5 separate regions of the Homo sapiens genome follow, and all the other regions are linked to region 4. The links are contacts of gene promoters, found by promoter capture Hi-C in human tissues and cell types (Jung and others, 2019). All regions are on one chromosome and are shown on one strand. Each heading gives the region's core, a stretch centred on a gene start or on the middle of the fragment in contact. The rest is flanking DNA. Distances are from core to core; before and after follow the strand shown. Region 1 overlaps LAMA3 (laminin subunit alpha 3). Region 2 overlaps RMC1 (regulator of MON1-CCZ1). Region 3 overlaps NPC1 (NPC intracellular cholesterol transporter 1). Region 4 holds the start of LAMA3 (laminin subunit alpha 3). Region 5 overlaps LAMA3 (laminin subunit alpha 3).

The links. Contacts are between HindIII fragments. The study calls those that stand out against the background at their distance.
Region 1: a contact is called between a fragment that was not itself captured here and the fragment with the promoter of LAMA3 in region 4, in 2 of the 25 tissues and cell types used here (IMR-90 fibroblasts and mesendoderm cells).
Region 2: a fragment that was not itself captured here is called in contact with the fragment with the promoter of LAMA3 in region 4 in 1 of the 25 tissues and cell types used here (IMR-90 fibroblasts).
Region 3: a contact is called between a fragment that was not itself captured here and the fragment with the promoter of LAMA3 in region 4, in 2 of the 25 tissues and cell types used here (adrenal gland and mesenchymal stem cells).
Region 5: a contact is called between a fragment that was not itself captured here and the fragment with the promoter of LAMA3 in region 4, in 3 of the 25 tissues and cell types used here (bladder, lymphoblastoid cells and mesendoderm cells).

What each region holds. Positions count from the first base shown.
Region 1 is chr18:23,882,804-23,886,340 of GRCh38, reverse strand. It overlaps LAMA3 (laminin subunit alpha 3), which reads right to left. Exons shown (of 75, transcript NM_198129.4): 41 at 1,488-1,568. Among named protein-coding and RNA genes, the nearest start is that of LINC02958, 98 kb to the left of the region's middle. The HindIII fragment of the contact is 3,535 bases long and covers 1-3,323 here.
Region 2 is chr18:23,528,774-23,532,410 of GRCh38, reverse strand. It overlaps RMC1 (regulator of MON1-CCZ1), which reads right to left. Exons shown (of 20, transcript NM_013326.5): 15 at 3,113-3,232; 16 at 2,699-2,776; 17 at 2,279-2,383; 18 at 2,114-2,182; 19 at 1,799-2,024; 20 at 589-786. The coding sequence ends at 707. It overlaps NPC1 (NPC intracellular cholesterol transporter 1), which reads left to right. Exons shown (of 25, transcript NM_000271.5): 25 at 127-969. The coding sequence ends at 209. Among named protein-coding and RNA genes, the nearest start is that of RMC1, 27 kb to the right of the region's middle. RefSeq lists an enhancer at 2,144-3,343. The HindIII fragment of the contact is 5,595 bases long and covers 1-3,637 here.
Region 3 is chr18:23,555,846-23,559,661 of GRCh38, reverse strand. NPC1 (NPC intracellular cholesterol transporter 1) reads left to right here. Exons shown (of 25, transcript NM_000271.5): 7 at 2,472-2,545; 8 at 3,049-3,419. Among named protein-coding and RNA genes, the nearest start is that of NPC1, 29 kb to the left of the region's middle. The HindIII fragment of the contact is 8,970 bases long and covers 1-3,816 here.
Region 4 is chr18:23,687,182-23,691,017 of GRCh38, reverse strand. LAMA3 (laminin subunit alpha 3) reads right to left here and starts at 1,565. Exons shown (of 75, transcript NM_198129.4): 1 at 1,041-1,565. The coding sequence starts at 1,334. RefSeq lists an enhancer at 1,657-2,206. The HindIII fragment of the contact is 10,376 bases long and covers 1-3,836 here.
Region 5 is chr18:23,826,346-23,829,909 of GRCh38, reverse strand. LAMA3 (laminin subunit alpha 3) reads right to left here. Exons shown (of 75, transcript NM_198129.4): 22 at 3,111-3,208; 23 at 2,443-2,596. Among named protein-coding and RNA genes, the nearest start is that of LAMA3, 140 kb to the right of the region's middle. The HindIII fragment of the contact is 6,884 bases long and covers 1-3,564 here.

The DNA of each region.
Region 1 (3,537 bases), core at 307-2,806, 200 kb before region 4:
TTTAAAATATTGATCCTTTCCAATATCCATTGTGGTAGGTAGTCACTCATTCTCTTTTGCTGCTGTAAGAATATAAACTTTTCTGGAGGGCAATTTTGCAAAAAGTATTAAAAGCCTGGAAAACCTATCCTCTGACCCAAAGAATCCACTTTTACAATTATACCTTGAGGATATGCATACACAAATATTAAGCTGCAAGGATTTAATTTTAGTGTTGCTTTAAATGCAGAACAGTAAAAGGATCTCCAAGACCAAGAGTAGGAGATAATGGAAACCCAGTGGAAATTTTTGGTCATTGATGTGATGTTATCAGTGAATACTTACTGATATGGAGAGATATTACTAACATAGTATTAGATAAGAAAACAAGTCAAAACAGAAAGTAAAACAGGAATCTACTTTTTTTTTTAAGGGTTCACACATTTAGAAATGATTTGTAGGAACAAACAGCCAGCTTTTTAACAGTGGCTTTCTGTAGACAAAATGATTATGAATAGGATTGTATGTGAAAGCGTTTGAGTGCACAGGGCTAGGTTGTAGGGGGGCCCTCACTGGTTCTCTGCTCGTTTGTTTTTCATCATTTTATAATAAATATGTATTGATTTTATGAGAAAGTTATTTTAAATTTTAAAATATGTAAACCATATGATTCATTTTTCATACTGTTACTTTCCCAAATATGTGTGTGCTTTCTTCTCAGCTAGGTTATAAGTATCTTTTATATCTTTCTCAGTACTTGGCAGTGTCCTATGCATAGTGGCTAATCATGAAAATTGTCCATGAATAACTAAAGCTTGGTTCTGCAGCCCTTTGTCATTAATTTTACAGTTTCCATTCCACAACATTTATTATTTTGTTTCACAAACATTACCGAACACCTATTATGTGAACAGTACCATTCTTGGAACCAGGGATTCCGAAATAAACAAGACATAGATTGTCCTGAAAGTGTTCAAAATATAGTGTGGGGATAGAGGGGTGTGTGTGGGGTGGGGGTGGGGGTGGGGGGGTGGGGGGGCTATCTAGGCTAGGGCTGTGGATATGTGTGTGTACGGAAGAGTGTAGACAGTTGTACATGTGTACAGGTAAGTAGGGATACGTTGAGGGCAGGTGTATGTGGAGATATGTGGAAGGGACATGTCGAAATAGGGGGTATGCAGAGATCATTGTGGAGGAGGGGTAGGTAGGGAGGTGTCGGGGGTTGAGGTACACAGGGGTGCGTGTTGGGGGGATGTAGGTAGAGCTACTTGTGGGTGAGTGTATGCGTTGTGCCTCATTCTCAGTTTTCTGAAACGTACAAAGCAGGAAAGAGAATGATATTAATGATTTATTAGGTGAGCAGTCTTGTATTTTTCCCAAGAGACCTTTTTCCAGGCCTCAGTCAAACTCCCAGCCCCACCCCTAGCTCTGTGCCAGCACCTGGCAGCCCCACCCACAGCCCTCCCCGCCCCCTCTGCAGGCTGAGGCGGGAGGGGCGCCCACCTTACCTTTCACACTGTGTTCCTGTGTACCCAGCTTTGCAGGAGCACCGCACGTCTCCCCCATTCACCACACAGCCAGTGGCAAAGCTTGAAAGAAGACAGAAAAAGGCCCCATCAAAAACACAGATCGATAGGATTTATGCTTATTTTTTACCACAAAGGACTGGCTTGTATTAAGTGAGCACTGAAACCCAGGGTCTGGTTACTTTGTGTGAAGAAAATTTTGCCCATCAAGACTTGGAGAGATAATGATGAATGATCTCAGCCGACACAGGGCAATTTTGGTGAACAAGGACTGAAGGCATTTATTTTATTTGTTCCTTGGGGAAGAGCATTTTTTCCCCTTAAGACAGAGCAGAGTAACTCACTTTGGAAGAGATGATTACAACAGCATTTTTCCAGGAATAACAAGGAAGGAGTAAAACAAGTCTAGGCAGAAAAAAGAACAGAGAGTTCTGATTCTTTAAAAAAAAACGTTCTCCTTGTTGATTCTAGTTCTTTTCTATCAGGCACATTGCCTTCTGGGAAGAAAAGTTGGTGGGGAGGCCAGGCCCTGGAGCCCCCTAAAGATGCACAGAGACCACTCGCCTGCCTCGGCATTTCTGTGGGCACAATCATTGCTGATTCTCACTTTTTTTTCAAACCAAGTTGTGGAATTTTGATCCCTTTTCTTTTAGCTCTAAAGTGGTGATATTTTACACTTGATTTTAGCCAAAAGGCTGAGAAGCAATAAGTGATGATATTTTAGAAGCAGCTTTAAACACACACACACACACACACACACACACACACACACACACACACACACACACCAAAGAGACCATGAAAAAGCCCTGTTGTCTGCCACTGGACATGACACTGATGACATCTGAGGGAATATCACTCCATTTGCTGGTAAGAGAATGCCTGTTTAGGAAGCCTCTCAAAAGACAGTTAGACATTGGTCAGCACTATTAATATTGCAGGAAGGAGAAATAGATACAAATAGAGTTTTACTGATAAATTCAAAGACCTACGTGTTACTTCAACTTATGGAAGCTGGAAGCTGACCTTGATGCTACTACGCTTTGCAAATGAAAATGAAAAACTTTTTCCAAGCACCCCAGTGGAAATCTCGCTGCTTTCTACTTTTGCCAGCTTCTCTTCAAACAAGTCTGGGCAAGCTCATGTGATTGATCCCTTGACAAATAAAGCTGCAGGATGGGGCGGGCTTCACGAGCATCAAAGACATAGACAGCAAAGCAGGGTGAGCATTCCAAATAGGTCTCTCCAGAGAAGCCACACTTGGCACATGACTTCTGGTGATGTTAGGACTTGGCCCATGTGTCTGTTAAGGGCTGATATAGGCCTGCCTTTGTGATCCACACTTGTTTCTGAGTCTATGTACTAGTGAGATGTTCTCAGTATCTTCTTGATTTTCAGAACAACTCTTGCTTCACTTAGTTTGTTACATCATTCTTTGCTTGGGCCCACAGTGAACCCTTTGTGATGAGTAAGGATATGACAAAGTGCCACACTTAAGGAGAGAGGGGGTTACCTTGAAAACACAGTGGTGGATTCCTACCTATGTAGTCTATTGGTCACTCTGGAGGCTGAATGAGAGCTCAGATCACTCAGTGGCTCAGAACTGCCCCAAAATTTCCATCGCACTGAGGATAAGATCCAGATGCTTGACCACAGCCTGCAGGGTTCTGCAGGATCTGGGTCCTGGTTGCTCCACCAACCTCACCTCTGGCCCTCTTCACACTGCACTTCTGCCACTCCTGCCTTCTCACTGCCCTTGAACACATTGTCACAGGCCTTTTCCTTCTGTTTCATCCTTGTCTAGGAGCCTCGTGGCCAAAATACTGCCATGGCTTCCTCTAACTTCAGGCCTCCTTGGCCACCCCTCTAAAGCAGCCACCCCCTCACTGTCAGTGACACAGCCTATTGCAGAAAATGTCATCTCTATCTCCAGTTATACCTCTTACTGATTAGTGTGTGTATTTATTGAGTGTGATGACTCCCACCCTTTCTCTCCCTCCCTGCCACACTCTAGGTCAAGCCCCAGGAGAAC
Region 2 (3,637 bases), core at 521-3,020, 160 kb after region 4:
AGGCTGGTCTCAAGCAATTCTCCTGCCTCAGTCTTCCAAAGTGGGATTACAGGCGTGAGCCACTATGCCCAGCCAACTAGCTCCCTTTCTCCTGCAGAAATAAGAAAAAGTCTCTCTCTCTCATAGGGCCATCAGTAAATAAAGCCAAAAGTTGTGCCACTGAAGAGCGATACAAAGGAACAGAGCGCGAACGGCTTCTAAATTTCTAGCCCTCTCGCAGGGCATCCTGACTGAACTGTGTCTAAGGGTCGGTCGGTTTACCACTGGACGGGTGCTGCATCGGCAAGGCCAAGTTGAACACCGGATGGTGCCAACCATCGGTTGTTTGGCAGCAGCTTTGAACGTAGCGCCTGTGAACTCAGGAATGCACAGTTGACTTGGGAAGCAGTATTACTAGATCTGGAGGCAACCACAGGACACTAAACTTCTCCCAGCCTCTTCAGGAAAGAAACCTCATTCTTTGGCAAGCAGGAGGTGACACTAGATGGCTGTGAATGTGATCCGCTCACTGACACTCTGTAAAGGCCAATCAATGCACTGTCTGTCTCTCCTTTTAGGAGTAAGCCATCCCACAAGTTCTATACCATATTTTTAGTGACAGTTGAGGTTGTAGATACACTTTATAACATTTTATAGTTTAAAGAGCTTTATTAATGCAATAAATTAACTTTGTACACATTTTTATATAAAAAAACAGCAAGTGATTTCAGAATGTTGTAGGCCTCATTAGAGCTTGGTCTCCAAAAATCTGTTTGAAAAAAGCAACATGTTCTTCACAGTGTTCCCCTAGAAAGGAAGAGATTTAATTGCCAGTTAGATGTGGCATGAAATGAGGGACAAAGAAAGCATCTCGTAGGTGTGTCTACTGGGTTTTAACTTATTTTTCTTTAATAAAATACATTGTTTTCCTAAGTTTTGGGGTTACCCTATCTGCTTTGAGAGACAAATACAAAAGCTAAATGGAAGAGATTCTATCTAACCTGTCCTTATGGTAACTAAATGCCGTCTTACATTGAGCTAGAAATAGACCTAGAAGTTTCATTAGACAGCCCTGATCCTTCCCTATCCTAAAGATGATGTCTTAGGTTGTATAACTATTTGGAGATGAGAATGATCAACCAGGGCCAGGTGCGGTGGCTCAAACCTGTAATCCCAGCACTTTGGGAGGCTGAGGCAGGCGGATCATGAGGTCAGGAGTTTGAGACCAGCCTGGACAATATAGTAAAACCCCATCTCTACTAAAAATACAAAAATCAGCCGGGTGTGGTGGCACGCACCTGTAGTCCCAACTACTCAGGAGGCTGAGGCAGAAGAATCGCTTGAACCCAGCGGAGGTTGCAGTGAACCGAGATCACACCACTGCACTCCAGCCTGGGCAACGGAGCGAGACTCTGTCTCAAAAAAAAAATGAGAATGATCAACCAATGTATACTTCATAAAACTGAAACCTTAATAAGCCCCAGACCCTTTAAAACCCTTAGCCACCATTTGCCGTCTTATTCCTGGCTTTAAGAGATATTCCAAGATCTGCTATAAGAGATGGGCTGTGCCTGATCTGGGTCCTAAATGTGTCTTGACTCAAAACACACCTCCTCGGTGAGTTCCAGAGCATAATTCAGATTCTGTCAGTATACTGAATTCACTCTACTACAAATAATGGGCCAAGGGCTAGGTGGGCTGTTATCAAATTGTGTTGTTTACAAAAATGCTAACCCAGGGTCCTCGCCCACCAGCTGCCAGTGCCCTCTGCTACTCTTTGAGGCTATGGTTACCCCAAGTCTTTTCATTGCATTCTCACCTGGTGTGAAATTGGGGCTCCCTCGCAAACGCTGGTTTCGCTGTTCAAAAAAGCGGAATATTGTATAGAAAAGCATGTTGTCTTCAGTCTGCTTTGCAGCATCTAAAAATTTTCGTGCAGAAATGTTGTCATGGCCACCAATGCCCCGGATAAACCTTAAGGCAGCTAACACTTGGTGTTTGGAAAGGAGAACTTCTACTATTTCATCATTTGCTGTTGAAAGTCGCTAGCAGTAAGGGAGAGAAGTCCAGGTCAGTGCAAACAACAGGAACAGAGTTAGTTTCCATAGTCTAAAACCTCACACATCAGAGTTACCTTCAGCATGTCCAGAGATAGCTGATGAGCAGGAGGATAGAAACTCTCTAGGGATAACAGCAGACAAGCCTGAAAGACATTTTTAGACCCACTTCAGTTGGAAAGATAACGGTTAAAATTTTCCATTTTTAACCACAATGGAAGTAAAAATCTGGCAATGCATACCAAAGGTTTGGAGTCGCTGAGGACGTGGTACTGCAGGAACTGATGCAGCATATAAAAGAGGTTGTGCTGGACAAGGGTTTTGATAACAAGTTCATGTAGGTAATGCTGAGGACAAAAGTAAAAAGTGAAAGAACACTTCCAAATCATTCAGCTACAACAGACTAGAGGCTCCCCAAGGACTGGCTATTCTAACCAACACAGTAAAAGTCTGTCATTACAAGAAGTGGTTTCGTCATGCAGGTAAAGACCCCAACTTGACCTTACACTTCCCATTCCAACTAATAATGTCAGGAGTCACTCAGCATTCTGAGTCAGGGAGGCAGACCTGTCTTAGCATATGAGTCATCTTCTAAGACAGTGACTGTGTTTTTTTTTTAAATTCCTTCTGTTTTAACTTGGGCCCAGATGATTTGAAGGTACCTGTACTGCAATCTGAAACTGGTTAAGAGAACGAATGTATTCCATCAGCACGGCTATCACAAATTTATGAGGCATCTCCTAGGGAGAAAAAAATGTGGTCTTACAAATACCAACGAGGTGCAAAAGAGGCTGCATATAACTCTCTATCCAACCCCCACCTTGTTTCCATCTTAAAATGGCCCAGTGTTCATCTTTCACTGGTTTTGCACACATCGCTCCAGAACCACCCGTCAACAATTATGCTTTAGGCCTCAGCATTAGAAGCCAAACTACCAGCTCTAGGGCCTCACCCAAGGAAACTCCAGTGATTCTAATCACTTCAAGTGACTCTAATCACATGAAGTCTCCTCGTTTTCAGCAACTTCCTTGTTTTGAGCATTCTCAGTCCAGAAGAGGCGGAAAGCTGCAGCCCACCTTCTTTTCCACAAAGGCTGACAGGACATGGGTGTACACATCTGACTGGTCCAGCACCGCCTGGGTCCGCACCGGCCTCTTGAGGAGCGGGCTGCTTCGGCTCTGCCCTGCTTCCACCGCCTGAAAGAAAAAAACCACAAACTATGATCTTCGGCATCTTAGAGGAAGGGTGCTGTTTACAGTTCATCCACAAGGACTGAATTCTTCGATGTGGACCCAGGATATGAGCGGAAAACACTTTCTCTACTTAGATACAACTTTTTCCTGTGCGCATGCCTGTAATCCCAGCTACTCAGGAGGCTGAGGCAGGAGAATCCCTTGAACCCAGGAGGCAGAGGTTGCGGTGAGCCAAGATCTCACCATTGCACTCCAGCCTGGGCAATAAGAACAAAACTCCGTCTCAAAAAAAAAAAAGCAGTTCAGATCCGTGCAGATTATGCAATAGCTGTGGGGTGTAGCCTGAGAACTTGCATTTCCAAGAAACTCCAGATGCTGCTCATGTGGCTGGTCAGTGGCCCACACTGC
Region 3 (3,816 bases), core at 410-2,909, 130 kb after region 4:
TCATTCTTTAGAAAGTCAGAGTCAAGGCCAGGCTCAGTGGCTCACACCTGTAATCCCAGCACTTTAGGAGGCCAAGGCAGGAGAATCATGAGGTCAGGAGTCCATTGCAAACAGCCCTGGCGACAGTGCGAGACTGTGTCTCACCAAAAAAAAAAAAAAAAAAAAAAAAGTCAGAGTCAAATGAGCGAAATCAGATTCAAATCTAATTAAATGGAGTACTATAGTCCTTTTAGATATTTGCATCTTAATTTAGGACAGTACTTTTTTTACTTTTTATTTTGAAATAATTGTAGACTTAACCAAAAAGTTGCAAAATGGTAGAATTTATGTGTATCCTTAACCCAGTTTCCCCGATGATACAACTTACATAACTCATAGTACATCTAGAACTAGAAATACCATTTGACCCAGCCATCCCATTACTGGGTATATACCCAAAGGATTATAAATCATGCTGCTATAAAGACACATGCACACGTATGTTTATAGCGGCACTATTCACAATAGCAAAGACTTGGAACCAACCTAAATGTCCAACAACGATAGACTGGATTAAGAAAATGTGGCACATACACACCATGGAATACTCTGCAGCCATAAAAAATGATGAGTTCATGTCCTTTGTAGGGACTTGGATGAAACTGGAAACCATCATTCTCAGCAAAATATCGCAAGGACAAAAAACCAAACACCGCATGTTCTCACTCATAGGTGGGAATTGAACAATGAGAACACATGGACACAGGAAGGGGAACGTCACACACCGGGGACTGTTGTGGGGTGGGGGCCTGGGGGAGGGATAGCATTAGGAGATATACCTAATGCTAAATGACGAGTTAATGGGTACAACACATCAACATGGCACACGTACACATACGTAACAAACCTGCACGTTGTGCACATGCACCCTAAAACTTAAAGTATAATAATAATTAAAAAAAAAACTCATAGTACAATGATCAAAACCACGACCATGCCATTATTATTACATTATTATTAGCTAAACCAGAGATCTTAATCAGATTTCACCAGCTTTTTCTCTAATGCCCTTCCCTGTTTCAAGGTCCCATATTACATTTTTGTGTTTTATGAGTCCCCTCTAATCTGTGACAGAAAGTTCCTCAGTCTTTCCTTTTCTGGCCTTAACACTCTTGATGATACTGGTCAGGTATTTTGTAGCATGTCCTTCCATTTGGCTTTATCTGGTATTTTCTCATGATGAGATTGAAATAAGGTGTTTTGACAAGTACATCACAGAAGTCATGTTATGTCTTTCTCGGTGCATCATGTCAGGGATCCCTGATGTTGATGCGTCTCTTTCCTGGTGATGTTAACCTTGATCACTTGCTCAAGGTGATGTCTGCTGGCTATCTCCACTGTGAAGTTACTGCTTTTCCCTTCGTAATTGATAAATATCTTGGGGGAAGATGCTTTGAGACTATACTAATATTTTGTTCCTCCTGAAACTCAACCACTGATTTTAGCATTCATTGTTGGGTCTTGTCTGCAACAGTTATAACTAAGGTGTTTGCCTGATAGTGATTTTTTTCTCTTTCCCTCTCTTCCTCTGCATTTACTAACTGGACTTCTGTACAGAAAGCTATCCCTTCTCCCTCATTTATTTACTCAGTTATTTACATCATGGACTTTTAATTCTGTGGGTTGTATCCAACACTGTCATTTATCTTGTTACTCAAAGTTTTCCACTTTGGGCCATTGGGAGTGCCTTCTGGCTGGCTTCTGTGTTCTTACATACACCTCCCATCCCCAGCTTTATCTTACATATTCCCTGTCCCTGCCCTGCAAGGAGCTCTGGTTCCTTTTATTGGAGAATGGTATGTAGAAACGAAGATCTGGGCACTAGGTATGCTCATTGCTGCTGGAAAGAGTAGCATGTTTTTGTTTGTTTGTTTGTTTTTTTGAGATGGAGTCTTGCTCTGTCACCAGGCTGGAATGCAGTGGCGCGATCTCAGCTCACTGCAACCACCGCCTCCCTGGTTCAAGCAGTTCTCCTGCCTCAGCCTCCCAAGGCACGTGCCACCACACCCAGCTAACCTTTTTGTATTTTTAGTAGAGACAGGGTTTCACCATGTTGGCCAGGTTGGTCTCGATCTCTTGACCTCGTGATCCCGCCCACCTTGGCCTCCCAAAGTGCTGGGTTTACAGGCGTGAGCCACCGCGCCTAGCCCAGTAGTGTGTTTTTAAAGGACCTAAAAGTTTTAAATAAAATGAGGGCCACAAGGTGAAATTATCCTTTATTAATTGTTCTCTTAACATCTTCTTAAATTTTCTCCTGAGACTGGTGAGCAGAGGGACCCAGAGCAAGGGGACTTAGGGGAAAGAAGGCAGTAATTAGGGAGGAGGAGGCCAGGAGGAGGAAGAAAGCATTTCATGGGATTACAGGAATGTCCCAAAAACAACCTCACTGTGATGAAGTCCACTAATGCTATTTCTTCACTTCTGTTTTTCAGAAAACGGTATTTTGTCTCCGAGTACACTCCCATCGATAGCAATATAGCTTTTTCTGTTAATGCAAGTGACAAAGGTAGGCATATTTGTCCATGAATAAAAGGGTTCAGATGATGCTGTCTGTCATGAGAGCATTCGTTTCCTCAGTGGGGTTGCAGCAGTGGGTGAGGTGGTGTGCCAGTGCCGAGGACACGGCTGCGACCAAGGCAGACATGGTCCTTGCCTTTGTGGCCCTACCATCTAGTCAGGGTGGCACAGCAGAACCAAGTAATTAATCATAGCTGGGGAGGCGCGAAAGCAGCAGGACAAGAGTGGGAATAGCAGGGCAGGGTTGAACCTCACCCTTCAGAGGCTCCTGTGTCGGCATCTCCTCTGTGGGGTGGGAATAGCGCTCATTGAGGGCAGCCAACAAAGGTGGCTTTGCTGAGCAGATAGGTAGCTGAGGGCAGGGGTCTCATATGTGTCCCCAGGTGGGCTTGATTCCTGCCATGAGATAGCAACTAATGCTTTCCCTGTTCCGACTTTCAGGAACGGCTTGGCTCTTAACCTCCACCTTCCCTTCCTCTCCCGTTCTTCCAGGAGAGGCGTCCTGCTGTGACCCTGTCAGCGCAGCATTTGAGGGCTGCTTGAGGCGGCTGTTCACACGCTGGGGGTCTTTCTGCGTCCGAAACCCTGGCTGTGTCATTTTCTTCTCGCTGGTCTTCATTACTGCGTGTTCGTCAGGCCTGGTGTTTGTCCGGGTCACAACCAATCCAGTTGACCTCTGGTCAGCCCCCAGCAGCCAGGCTCGCCTGGAAAAAGAGTACTTTGACCAGCACTTTGGGCCTTTCTTCCGGACGGAGCAGCTCATCATCCGGGCCCCTCTCACTGACAAACACATTTACCAGCCATACCCTTCGGGAGCTGATGTACCCTTTGGACCTCCGCTTGACATACAGATACTGCACCAGGTAACCTGCTGTTTGAAGAAATAAGTCACTCTAGATGACCTTGTGGTTTGCTGGCTTTTACATGTTGACTACTGCTAGATGGGGATTTGGGGCTGAATGTCATGGTATATCTTGAAAATCTTAGCGTATAATGGCAAAGCTGCCTTTAAGTTAGGTTTCAAGAAAGTGAATGATGTTGAACTTAATGGAATATTTATTGTTGCTCACTTTTGTATTTACTTCAGATAGTAGACCTTGCCTTTTTCTTGAAATTGAGATGAGCAGAGAAAGAAGACTTCAGTGGCGTTTCTCTATTGAGGCAGGATATATTTATTAGGAAGTCACCTTAGGAATTTGTGAAATGTTTTCTGTTGGTAACTGAAAGTAATATGCAAGGACCCAGAGGCATGAAGCCCTT
Region 4 (3,836 bases), core at 316-2,815:
TCCTGCCCCTTTGGGAGGTCAAGACAGAAGGACAGCTTGAGGCTAAGAGTTTGAGACCAGCTTGGGCAAAATAGCCAGACTCTGTCTCTACAGAAAAATAAATAAATAAATAAATAAATAAATAAATAAATAAATAAATAAATAATTGCCAGGCCTGAGGTTGCAGTGAGCCGAGATCGCACCATTGCATTTCAGCCCCGGCGACAGTGCGAGACTCTGTCTCAAAAAAAAAAAAAAAAAATTGCCAGGCACGGGGGGGCACGCCTGTAGTCCCAGCTACGCCCAAGGCTGAGGCGGGAGGATCCCTTGAGCCCAGGAGTTCGAGGCTGCCGTGAGCCGTGATCGCACCACTGCACTCTTGCCTGGCTGAGACCTGTGAGTAAGGGCCAGGCACTGCAAGATGCTGCTTAACATGCACCGCAATGTCGTTTGCCCCGGGTGTTCGCGGTGAGGCTCGGATCTCTGAGAGCCTTTCTATCTCTGTCCGCCTAAGGTCTCATTCGCCCCCAATGACTGGATGGTGGCACTTCAGGCAGTGCAGTGAAGTGAATCTTTTCAGTAACATTAGAGTGATACCGCTGTTATAACCTAAAAATTCTCTCTTAAAATACACCACAGAAGGTAATTGCCACCGACTTCTCCGAATAAGGCCCGGGAGGTGGGGCAGGAGGCGCCCCTGAACCCTCGAGGACTCAAGCCTGGCGGGACGCTCCGTGGGTGACGGAGGCGGGAAGGGCCGAGGCGCCTGCATCTCTTAGAGCGCAGCCTCACACTTTCCCCTCCACCAGCCCGAACCTGACCACAGCCTCATGTCACCTCGCGTGCTCCCCCTCCTCGCCTCGGGCCGGTGGTGCCGGTGCGGTGCTTCCACGAGATCGCTCCTGGGTCGTGGGCCCTCGCGCGCGGGGATGGGGGCTGCCCTTCCCAGTCGCCCGGAGCCACTAGCGCGCGTGAGGAAAGGGCCCGATCCCTTCTCCGGGTGTCTGGCCGGCGCGGGAAGGAAAAGGCGCGCCCACCCCGGCTCTCTCCGAGGCCCTCACCTGGATGGTGTGGCCGCTGCCTGGGGCGGTGGGGCCCCCGACCAACTTGCAGTAGAGCTCGGGCTGGGGCCTCCCCTCGCCGGGTCCCCTCTCCCCGCAGGTGGCGGTGGCCCAAATCCTCGCCGCCTCGGCCAGGTTGAAGTAAGTCGGGTGAAGGCTGAGCCCGGCCGCGGCCCCGGGATCCCGAGCGGTCGCCCCGCAGGCTGGCAGCACCCGCAGTACCAGCAGGAGCAGCGGCGTCGGCGGCAGTACTGGCCCCAGTGCCCGACCCCGAGGCCGCGCGGCCGCCGCCATCCAGCCGCGCGGGGTCCTCCCGCCTGAGCCGTCCGCAGAGGGGCTCGGGGGCACCGCCGCTCTCCGCCTGCGCCTCCCGGACCTGCAGCGCCAGGACTAGCGCAGCCGGGGATATGGGCGGCGCCGGGGCCGCTCCCCTTGCTCCACGCGCTGGAAGCCCGCGGCGTGGGGGTGGCCTCTCAGCTCTGGAACCTGCCGCGGCTGGAGCGGGCACCAGCCGGATCAGGAACTGACAGCGCTCAGCCGCGCGCCAGCAGACGGCGTCTCTCCCGCGCGAGGCGCGCTGCAAACTTCGCGGGCGGGGAATGGGAGAGGCGTTCCCGGGCTCCCACCCAGGCGGCGGGAACGGGAGCCTGGGATCTTCGAACCCTCCAGGCGCCAGGACAGAAATTAATTAGATCGTTCTCCTCTCTGGATACTCACCGCTCAGGTCAAAGCCAGAAAAGCCACCTGTGACCTAAGAGTAAAGGAGGCTTGTAAACGAATTTGGTTGAGAGCAGAGGAAACTGCCACTACCTACAGAACTCACATCAAAGACATTTCGATTTCCCAGCCAAGTGTTGAGTCGTCAACTCCTCAACACTGTGCACCTAGGATCCCTGTGGCACTGCAGCCACAGGCTGAGCCAGGGAACTGGGAGTGGTGGAACGTACATATTTAAAAGACAGCCAATAATGCAAGTTGTAATTTGCCAACCTGGAAAGGAACCTTAGAGGAAATCCTTTAGATGCCTAATCTGCTCAATTTTACAAATAAGCTAACAGAGATTGAGTGAGGTACGCCACCTGCCATGATGGCCTCAGAACAGAGAAGACCCCCTCCCCCCACGACCCCGGACTGATGCTTGGTCTTATATGCAGAACACCCTACTAAAACAGAACCCACATAGGCCCTCGAAGAAATTAGAGGAATGCAATATTTGTACAATAAAAATTGCAAAACCTCTTTGAAAGAAATGTTAAAAGACCTAAATGAGTGGAAAAGCCTCCCATGTTCATGGATTAGGAGACAATATTGTGAAGATGGCAATATTTCCTAAAGCAACCTACAATTCAACACAATGGATTTTGATAGGGATCAAAATCCCGACTTTTTTTTTTTTCAGAAATTGACAAGCTGATCCTAAAATTCATGTGGAAATGCAAGAGACCTAGAAAATCCAAAACGATTCTGAGAAAGAATGAAGTCAGTGGACTCACGCTTCCTAGTTTTAAAACTTAATACAAAACTACAGTAATCAAGACAGTGTAGTACCGACATAACGATAAACATAGATCAATGGAATAGAATTGAGAGCTCAGAAATAAACCGTTACATTTATGGTCACTGGATTTTCAACAGGGTGCCAAGACTATTCAATGGGAAAAGAATAATATTTTTAATAAACGCTGCTGGGAAAACTGGACATCCCAAAATAATCTAGTAGGATCCCCACCTCATACTATATGCAAAAATTAACTCAAAATGGATTTAAGATCTCTAAATTTTACATTTAGAGAGCTAAACTATAAAGCTAAAACTATAAAATTCTAAGGGAAAAACACAGGAGAAAATCTTCATGACTTTGGATTAGCAATGCTGTCTTAGCTATGATATCAAAAGCGCAAGCAACAAAAGAAAAATATAAATTGGGCCGGGCACGGTGGCTCATGCCTGTAATCCTAGTACTTTGGGAGGCCGAGGTGGGTGGATCACCTGAGGTCAGGAGTTCAAGACTAGCCTGGGGAAAATGGTGAAACCCTGTATCTACTAAAAATACAAAACTTAGCCAGGCATGGTGGCATGTGCCTGTAATCCCAGCTACTCCAGAGGCCAAGGCAGGAGAATCACTTGAACCCGGGAAGCGGAGGTTGCAGTGAGCCAAGATCATGGCACTACACTCCAACCTGGGCAACAGAGCAAAAATCTGTCTCAAAACACACACACACACACACACAAAGATAAATTGAAACTTACCAAATTTTAAAACTTTTGTGCTTCCAAGGCACCCTCAAGAAAGCGAAAGATGGCCAGGCACAGTGGCTCATGCCTGTAATCCCAGCACTTTGGGAGGCCAAGATGGGTTGATCGCCTGAGGTTAGGAGTTCAAGACCAGCCTGGCCAACATGATGAAATTTTCTACTAAAAATACAAAAATTAGCTGGGCATGGTGGTGCACACCTGAAATCCCAGCTACTAGGGAGGCCGAGGCAGGAGAATCACTTGAACCCAGGAGGCAGAAGTTGCAGTGAGCTGAGATTGTGCCACTGCACTCTAGCCTGGGAAACTGAGAATCCATCTCAAAAAAAAAAAAAAAAAGAAAGTAGAAGACAATCCGCAAGATAGAAGAAAATATTTGCAAACCATATATCTAATTAGAAATTCATATCCAGAATAAACTCTTACAACTCAACCATTTTTTAAAAAGTAGTGGGCAAATATAAAAATGGTCGATAAGCATGACCATGGAAGACGCTCAACATCATTAGCCATCAGGAAAATGCAAACCAAAACCACAATGAG
Region 5 (3,564 bases), core at 93-2,592, 140 kb before region 4:
GGTTATGGATTTATAAGAAGCTGTGTGAAGGTCAAATACTGCATGTTCTCACTTATAAATGGTAGCTAAGCAATGGGTACATATGGACATACAGAGTGTAATAACAGACACTGGAGACTATGAAAAGTGGAGGGATGGGAGGGGGTGTTGAAAAAGTACCTATTAGGTACAATGTTCACTATTTGGGTGATGGGTACACTAGAAGCCCAGACTTCACCACTATGTTATATATGCATATAAGAAACTTGTACTTGTACCCCTAAATATATAAAACTAAATAAATTTTTAAAAGAAGCTATGGAATTTGGGAACCAAAAATCAAATATGTGGCCTCATGACCAAGAACTGAGCTATGCCATTCATGGGGTCAATGTCTGAATCTCCTATCTTCAGTGTCATAACAATAGAGAAGGCACACTGTAATGCCTGCTCCTGGGCTAAGGATCCAGTGGACAGCTAAGACAATGCAAAATTAGCAGGCTGAAACAGATGCGAAAGAAGGAGAGGATAAAAACCTCTCATTCAAAATAAGCCAATATGCCTGTAAACAAAATTCAAAACACATAAATTGAATATTAAGAAAGACAGGTAACAAAATAATCAGAGATGAGTTCACTTCAGATGAGGTGAATTTTATGGAATAGTCTGAGAAAGACTTTAAATATACTGGCCCATGATCTGAAATCCCCAAACTCTGAAAAGGAAATAGGTTTTGTAACTGTTTTGGTGGCAAACCTAACCTAACCAATAATCATTTGCTGGCAAAGTCTGAACTAAACTGATATAAGTCTATGTATATAGTCAGTTAGTGTCTCCCTAGGTGTGCCTATTCATGCTTTTCACTGGAGAAATATTAACCTGTTTGATTATAGGGTATTATCCCAGACCTCACTGGAGATGTTATCTTTTTTCAAATCTTAAAAATTTTGAATTCTGAAATACACCTGGCTCCAAGGCCTTTAGGATACTAAAAAAGCTAAATGAAGAAGTAACTTCCACTTAAAAGTACATGAAGTTTTGAAACAAAAACTGGCAGAAAAGACAAGAAAAAATAAATATGATAAAGAGCCAATTGAAAAGTTTTAAAAGTATAAATTAAACTGAATCAATAAGCTGGATAATTTCTAGACCAGAGATAGTGAAATAAAATATTTCCGTATTGTAAAAGAGCCTTGAGGTCCTGCTGACTAGCTCTGTGCTATAGCTCTGGGTTAAATCAGAGGTTAGAACCTCCTAGATGAGTCATCAGCATCACTTCCTGGTGGTTGCCCCTTCTCAACGGTACCTCTTGTTGTCTAGGGAACACACACACACAAATACACACACACATACATATACCTGTATATGTACGTGTATGTGCATTTTATGTATATATGTATGTATGTACACCTATATACATGTATGTGTGTATGTGTGTATACACACATAGCATGTGTAGGGAGGGATACAGCAAACTTAGTATTAGAATGAAGTAGAGGGAAGATCATTTAGGTTTTTTATGCATATCTATATTGTTTTACTTGTTACAAGTAAATATTATTTCGTAGCATGAAAATTCAAATAAAATGAAGACTTTACTTAAGAAATATACTTAAAAACCTTTAACTGCTACCTTCAAAATGTTAGAAATGTAGTTTACAAAAATGTACACATCTAAAAGTTCAGTTACAATTAACTCCACATATATTTTCATCCCACAAATTTAATCCCCCAAATGAATATTTTCCTCAAAAGGACAAAACAGAGAATGTTACAGAGAGCAAAGAATAAAAATATAGTGGAGGAAGTCTTTCAGTGTCTTCATTTTGAAGTGTTGTGTATTCTTATTGTTATGGTTGATATCCTATAGCTCTAACTCGAATCTGAAATCAGTATGATCTTAAATTTGGTTCTGAAGTTCGAAGAACTCCTGGAAGAAAAGTAATACCAAGACCTGTAGTAACCTGTCCTCCAAGCCATGAGGTAGGTGCCAGGGGATGTAGAAGTTCCGGATTCTGAGCTCAAGGAATTCAGCTGCTACAAATTGCTTAGCCTAAGGGGTTGAACAGTCAGTGAGTGTGGTATCCTTTTAGGGTAAGCTGTGTCATTTCTGGACGCTTACTAGATTGAGTCTCATCTGTCTTTTAAGAGAAATCTTGCCCTGAATCATGTAGAACAGGATGCCCCCTTCTAAGTCCAGATAACCAAAAAGAAAGGATTCTATAGATGCCCACATCCCCTGCCATGTCTAGAAAGTGCTCAAAGAACAACCTGAACATGGCTCCATGTAGCGTACCATCCAGCCCCACCCTAAATCAGATAGTTCAGCAAATGTTGATAAACACCTCTGAGAAATTCTTCCAGGTTCCCCTGAATTTGAGAAGCAACTGTGGCCAAGTATTTTTAGCAGATACAGATGGGGAGGTAGTAATAACTTTGATAATAAATAAAAGGCTGGCCCACCTCTCTCCCGCTGAGGTCCACCATGACAGGGTGTGCAGGTGTGGGCTGCCTCACTGCCACGGGTCTTGGCTCCCCATCAAGCAGGAAGTGTCTGGCCTCACAAGCCAGGGTACAGGGGAATCTGGTCACTGGCAAATGCTGGTAGAGTAAGCAACTTCAACAACAGCAACAACAATGGAATCAATAGTTACAACTGAGAACATCAAACGGAATATCAAAGTACATCCCCAAAGACTCTCAGTCATTCAGTTCACTCATTCATTCATCATCCTTCAATAAACTCTTATTAAGTGTCTGCTACAAGAATTAAGCAATAAATTTTCATCTGCATGGGGAAGAGAAGAAACAAAGGTCCACAAACCTGGCTTCTATTTTAAGCTCTTCCTCCCACCAGATGTATGACTGACCTTGAGGGCATTGACTTGGGCATGCATCAACATTCCCACATGCTGGAGGGTGGTAGCCACTCCTAAGCCAGCTATGGTGTGCAAAGTGCTTTGTGAATCTTACTTGAAGAACACAAGTAAGACATAGAGGAAGATAACAACTAATTATCCAGAGCATCATGCTGTCGTTGTGATCCTGAGACACCTCATGAAAGCTTGCATTAAAGGCTCCTAATTTAGAGGACCCCAATGATGCGGCTGCACCTTCTGCCCCACACTGACTTTTCTTGGGGAGGTCCTGCGTAGGCACATGGTTCTGTGACTGGCAGCTGCAGTACAGAGGCTTCATAGTAGTCCCTGGGGAGCAGCACCAGGTAATCCTAGAAAATAAAGACCAAAAGGAGAATCATTCATTTTGATGGTAGCCCTACTTTGGATAGAAAATAATCAAACATACTAGTTAAATCAATAATAACCAGGTGAAGTCGCTAGTTAAACTCTCCATATCAACTGCTTTGTTCTTCATCCCGACTCACCGAAACACAAAGAACCACTCATCAAAGATTCTTTATGTATCAGAGAGAAACTTGTCAGTGTGAACAGTTTTATTCTTCAAGTTTCAAGAGAGATTTTACTGTCTCTCCTTGGTTGTTTATAAATTCACAAATTAACAAAGATAATAAATTGTCAACTGATGAAATGTTCTGTGGAAATGCTGGTTGCCTTCAGCAGTACA